Linked DNA regions of Homo sapiens: region 2 is linked to region 1. Evidence: promoter capture Hi-C in human tissues and cell types (Jung and others, 2019). All regions are on one chromosome and are shown on one strand. Each heading gives the region's core, a stretch centred on a gene start or on the middle of the fragment in contact. The rest is flanking DNA. Distances are from core to core; before and after follow the strand shown.

What was found. The method cuts DNA at HindIII sites, captures the fragments that hold promoters and counts their contacts. A contact is called where the count stands out against the background at its distance.
Region 2: a fragment that was not itself captured here is called in contact with the fragment with the promoter of SLC15A3 in region 1 in 3 of the 25 tissues and cell types used here (H1 embryonic stem cells, lymphoblastoid cells and mesendoderm cells).

Annotation. Positions count from the first base shown.
Region 1 is chr11:60,950,683-60,953,531 of GRCh38, reverse strand. It overlaps SLC15A3 (solute carrier family 15 member 3), which reads left to right and starts at 1,356. Exons shown (of 8, transcript NM_016582.3): 1 at 1,356-2,538. The coding sequence starts at 1,981. RefSeq lists an enhancer at 1,044-1,183 and silencers at 1,364-1,593, 1,914-2,073. The HindIII fragment of the contact is 25,133 bases long and covers 1-2,849 here.
Region 2 is chr11:61,092,092-61,094,940 of GRCh38, reverse strand. LOC105369325 (a long non-coding RNA gene) reads left to right here and starts at 2,583. Exons shown (of 2, transcript NR_188502.1): 1 at 2,583-2,644. It also overlaps a transcript of CD5 not described here. RefSeq lists an enhancer at 2,020-2,849. The HindIII fragment of the contact is 6,674 bases long and covers 1-2,849 here.

The DNA of each region.
Region 1 (2,849 bases), core at 107-2,606:
GAACTCAGGAAGTGGAGGTTGCAGTGAGCCGAGATTGTGCCACTGCATGGCAGCCTGGGCGACAGAGTGAGACTTCGTCTCAAAACAAACATACAAACAAACAACAACAACAAAAAATCCCTCGCTTTTTTGCTGGTATCTATAGTGCTTTTTTTGCTGGTATCTATAGCTTTTGTGAGACTCAGTTTATTTAGCTTTAGCTTTCCTGATATTATTATTCTTACAAATTTTGCCTTGGGACACTCTTTCCATTCATTGATTCAGGCAATACTTATTGAGCACCTACTATTTGCCAAGCACTGGGAAGCCATTGAGAATAAAACAGTGAAGAGTTAGAAAAGGTCTCTGATCTGATGGAGGGCCTATTCTACTGGTGCTAACTGAACAAGTAATATGTGCTCTGAAGACATTAAAACAAGACAATGTGATGGGGGATGCTGAGAATCCAGTAGGAAACTACTTAGATGGGAAAATCAGGGAAGGTCCCTACAAAGGAGACATATATGCTGAAACCTCAATAAAGAGAAGCAGCCAGCCATGCAAGGATATGGAGGGAGAGCAGTTATGGCAGAGGGGTCAGCAAAGACAAAGGCCCTGAGGCAGGGAGGAGCTTAGCATGGAAGGGGAACCTGGGAGGCCGGCTGGCTGGACTTGAGTGAACATGGGGCTGAGATGAGATCAGAGGAGAGCAGAGGCCAGATCCCCCGGGCTCCTAGGTCAGGGTGGGGCTGGTGCTTAGGAGTTCTGAGGCTGACTCTGATTTAGTCTGAGGTCGGTGTCCCTCTCAATCCCGACTCACTTGTGGTCCTCTATGGCCCGCAGGCTTGTTGAAAGTGCCCCACTTCCTTCCTCACAGCAGCCTCTGTGCAATCCGAATTGCGCTGTGAATTTCCCTGCCACTCAGGAGCCCGGGGCAGGGCTTCACCCCTAGTTCAGTTACCAGGAACCAATCTTTCTCCACCTTCCTGCCCTAGCCCCACTGGGTCTGTCTCTGCATCTGTGAAATGGCTGAGTGTGACCAAATGATGCAGGTAGCCTTTCCACTTCTTTCTACCCGTGGCGCCTCGGGTGGAGGCGTGGAGTTTGATTGGAAGAGGGTAAAGCAAAAGTGGAATCCTGGCGAGAAATGAAACTGAAAGAAAAAATTCCTCCTGGAATTTTTTGGCTCTAAGGAGGCCAGCAGCGGGGGTTTGGGGTAGGAGGCAGAGGTAGAGAAGGAGGGAGGTTTTTAGAAAGCTGACCGGGCAGGAGCCCTGTGACCCAGGCTTTCACTTCTCCTAAACACCCAGTAGCGCCATGTGATGCAGGCAGGGGACTGCGGATAGGGCCTGTGAAAGGGGAAGCGAGGGGAGCCCAGAGTTTCTCAAGAAGCCGAGAGAGGGACAGAGGCTGAGCCTGGGGGGAGGGCTGCAGGGGACTGAGAGGGGAGTGTAGGCAGTGGGGGTGAGGGGGACAGGGAGGAGGTGGAGAAGACGGCAAGGGGCAGCAGGGTGACTGGGGCAGAGGGAGCCCCCACCCCACGCCCAGGGCAGGCCAGGAGTCATAAGGAGAGGGGACAACAGGAAGGGGCGACAAACGGGGAGGGGAAAGGGAGGCGGAGGGGCAGCGAAGTGAAGCAGGGAGGGTCGCAGTGTGAACAAGAGTGCGAGGAAGGGTCAAGGTGGAGGGAGGAGAGGGGAGAGTTAGGGAGAAACAGCTGCAGGAGAGGCGCGGGGAGGAAGCCTTAGGGGTGGGGGAAGGGAGAGGGGAGTTGAGAATTAGGGAGGAGGTGGTAGAGTCCGGGTAGTGAGCGGAGGGACAGGAAGGGTAGGGCAAGAAAGGGAGAGGGGACAGGAGGGAAGGGTGGGCCAAAGCGGTGAGAAAGGAGGGCCAGCCAGTTGGGTGGGGGAGAGGGCCGAGGCCCGGGGGCAGGAGTGCAGGGCTCTGAGGCGGGGAGAGGAGAGGAGAGAAGAGCCGCGGGGGGCCCAGCCCGGAGCCAGGATGCCCGCGCCGCGCGCCCGGGAGCAGCCCCGCGTGCCCGGGGAGCGCCAGCCGCTGCTGCCTCGCGGTGCGCGGGGCCCTCGACGGTGGCGGCGGGCGGCGGGCGCGGCCGTGCTGCTGGTGGAGATGCTGGAGCGCGCCGCCTTCTTCGGCGTCACCGCCAACCTCGTGCTGTACCTCAACAGCACCAACTTCAACTGGACCGGCGAGCAGGCGACGCGCGCCGCGCTGGTATTCCTGGGCGCCTCCTACCTGCTGGCGCCCGTGGGCGGCTGGCTGGCCGACGTGTACCTGGGCCGCTACCGCGCGGTCGCGCTCAGCCTGCTGCTCTACCTGGCCGCCTCGGGCCTGCTGCCCGCCACCGCCTTCCCCGACGGCCGCAGCTCCTTCTGCGGAGAGATGCCCGCGTCGCCGCTGGGACCTGCCTGCCCCTCGGCCGGCTGCCCGCGCTCCTCGCCCAGCCCCTACTGCGCGCCCGTCCTCTACGCGGGCCTGCTGCTACTCGGCCTGGCCGCCAGCTCCGTCCGGAGCAACCTCACCTCCTTCGGTGCCGACCAGGTGAGTGGCAGGAGGCCTGCCCCGGCATACTCCGGCGGGTGTGGAGGGAAGGAGGGCTGGCCCCCAGCGTGACCTGGGACAAACCAGGTCCCCTGCCTGCACTAGTTTCCTGATTTGAAAGAAGAGGGGGGCTAGCCCTTGCAAAACCGATGGCAACCGCAGTGGGAATAACCATGGTTGTTTTTTTGTTTGTTTTATTTTTTGAGACGGAGTTTCACTCTGTCGCCCAGGCTGCAGTGCAATGGCGCGATCTCAGCGCACTGCAACCTCAGCCTCCCGGGTTCAAGCGATTATCCCTCCTTAGCCTCCAG
Region 2 (2,849 bases), core at 179-2,678, 140 kb before region 1:
CTGATCTGGGTGCCCTGGCTTACAGGTTACCCTGTGCCATACCTTCGAGACAAGGGACCTGTCCAGGCTTCCTTCCGATGGCCAACCCACCTCTAATGCTGGCCAGTCTATCTCACACAAAGCTCTAAGTTTTCCTGGTGTCATAGTGACTCCAGAGTCTCCCTTAAATCCCTTTTTGAAATTTTTCAACATAGTTCCTAGTGGGGTAGGCTTACTTTGTGTCTGACCCATGTTTCCTCGAGACAAAACACCATGCTCACACCACAAAACAAAGAACGGGTAAAAAGGGCACACACACACTTTTACAGTTTACGCCAAGCCAGAATCAAAACCAAAATCAGAGTATCAAGAAATCCAAGCCAGGTCAAAACCAAAACCAAAGTATCAAGCAATCCAAGACAAGTCAAAAACAAAAACCAAAGTGCTGGTACAGGCACACTGTGGGTGATCAGGACACGCTTCTACTCAAATGGAGTAGGCAAGTTCCCAAGACCAGTCCTGTCAAGCGATTCAAACCAAGTCAAAACCAAAACCAAAACCAAAGTGCTGATAAAGGCATGCCATGGGTGATTGGGCCATGCTTCCACTCAAATGGAGTGGGCAAGTTCCAAGGACTAGTCTTACCAAGTTTCAGTTGTCCGGACTCCAAGTGCCAGTTCCTTCCCTGTGTTCAGCCACTGCGTTGATCCTCCACAGGGGCCTGCCATGCACTGCTCTGACGAGGCATTCCACTGGGGCAATTGCCTACCTGGGAGCGCTCTGAGGATCCGTGTCGCTCAAGCTGGCCAGAGTTCCCCGCGGGGATGCTCCACAAGGCAGGCCTAAGCTGCCTAAGGGGCTGCCTCAACTGTCCGTTAATCACTTTGCTTCCTGGTCAGGGAACCAAGAAATGTAGCAGGACAAGCCACAGACAAAACCCCTCAGACACCAAGTTAAAGAAGGAAGGGGTTTATTCAGCCGGGAGCATCAGCAAGACTCCTGTCTCAAGAGCCGAGCTCCCTGAGTGAGCAATTCCTGTCCCTTTTAAGGGCTTACAACTCTAAGGGGGTCCGCTTGAAAGGGTCGTGATCGAATGAGCAAGCAGGGGGTACGTGACTGGGGGCTGCATGCACCGGTAATTAGAACAGAACAGGACAGGGATTTTCACAGTGCTTTTCTATACAATGTCTGTAATCTATAGATGACATAACCGATTAGGTCAGGGGTCGATCTTTAACTACCAGGCCCAGGGTGTGGCGCCGAGCTGTCTGCTTGTGGATTTCATTTCTGCCTTTTAGTTTTTACTTCTTCTTTCTTTGGAGGCAGAAATCGGGCATAAGACAATAGGAGGGGTGGTCTCCTCCCTTAGACCCACTTAGACACTCCCCGGTTTCTGCTCACTCAGGGCTGGAGGGTGCTGCATGCTTGAACCTCTTTGGCAGAGGGAAGCTTTGACCCCCACCCCAGGATCAAGGAAAGAGAACTCCTAAGGTAGCTGTGATTGGGGCCACACCCATCCCTCATCCAGCCTTCAGAGGTGCCTTTTCCTCCCGCCAGAGGTGCCCTCAGCCTGGGATGGGGAAACCTCACCCGGCCCCTCCCGGCCAGGCCTGGCCCAGTTCCCTGCCCCCTGCCCCTTGCCCTCACATCCATCCTTCCTGGTCCCTTGACTCTGGAAATCCCAGCCTCTTTCATTCATTCATTCATTCACTCATTCATTTATCAATATTTGTCCCATGCTAAGCCCAGGGATGTGAAGACGAAAGAGACAGACATGGCTCCACCCTTCTTAGCACCAAAGACTCTGCTGGGATGTTTTTTCTTGATGAGTGCTGTTCGTGGGTCACACAGCTGTGTGCAGTAAGCAGCCCTTCACAGCCCCTGTTCCCACACTCAGTGTACATAATTGCAGCCCAAAAGAGCGAGGAAAGTTTTACTAAGCACCTTCCTCTAGCCAGAGGCGTCAGCTCCTTCAGTCTTCCCAATTATCATGGAAGTGGGCACAGCTTTCCATTTCACAGATGAGGAAACTGAGGCTCAGAAGGTAAAGTATTCGGCCCCAGGAGGTCAACGCTGAAGTATGATCCCACGTTTTCCTCACTCTGCCACCCTTGCCACCACTCCCCACCTCCTTACCCAAAGAAAAGAAAACAAACCAAACATTTGGGCTTTGCTTTGATCTCAGAGTCTTCATCACAGTACAACTTCTACTCTTTTTGTTTGTTAGTTTGGTTTTGGAAAACTGAAAGTAGCTCAGGGCCTCGGGTTGCTGTCTTCCAGGCCCCCAGGGCTTGGCACTGCCTCGACCCTAGTGGAGGGGGTCGCTGCCCTCTGAGAACACTGCCCTATAGGCTCCCTCCCTGCTGCCCACCCCCATAAGTTACCCCTGCCCCTTTCACCCCTCCGGGCCTCCAGGTCCAGAAACCTCTGGGCCCCTGTCCCCACTCAGACCTCAGATCCCTGGCGGGAGTTTCCTGTCCCCATCACTGCACTTTCCATGACACAAGAGGAAGTCAGCTGAGCCCAGGCTGGGTTTTCCAGGCAGCGAGGCCCAGTAGAGGCTGAAGGTGGGGGAAGGGGTTGCTGAGCCCCCAGGGCCGGGTGTCAGAACCTCCTCAACCTCTACCGGAGAGGTGCCTGCCGGTGCTGCCGTGGGCCACACCAGGTAATCTGGGGTGGGGTGTGCCTGTGTCTGTCACCCCTCTGGACTCGGTGACTCCTCAGTGCCCCCAGGTGTGCCCTCTTCACTGGGGCAAAGGGGCACTAGGATCTGGGGAAAGGGGAGGAGCTGAGGGTGGGAGGGAGGAGGTGAAGGAGGCTGAGGAATGTGACTGGTGCATAGTAGGACCTCAGGGTTTGTTGAATGAATG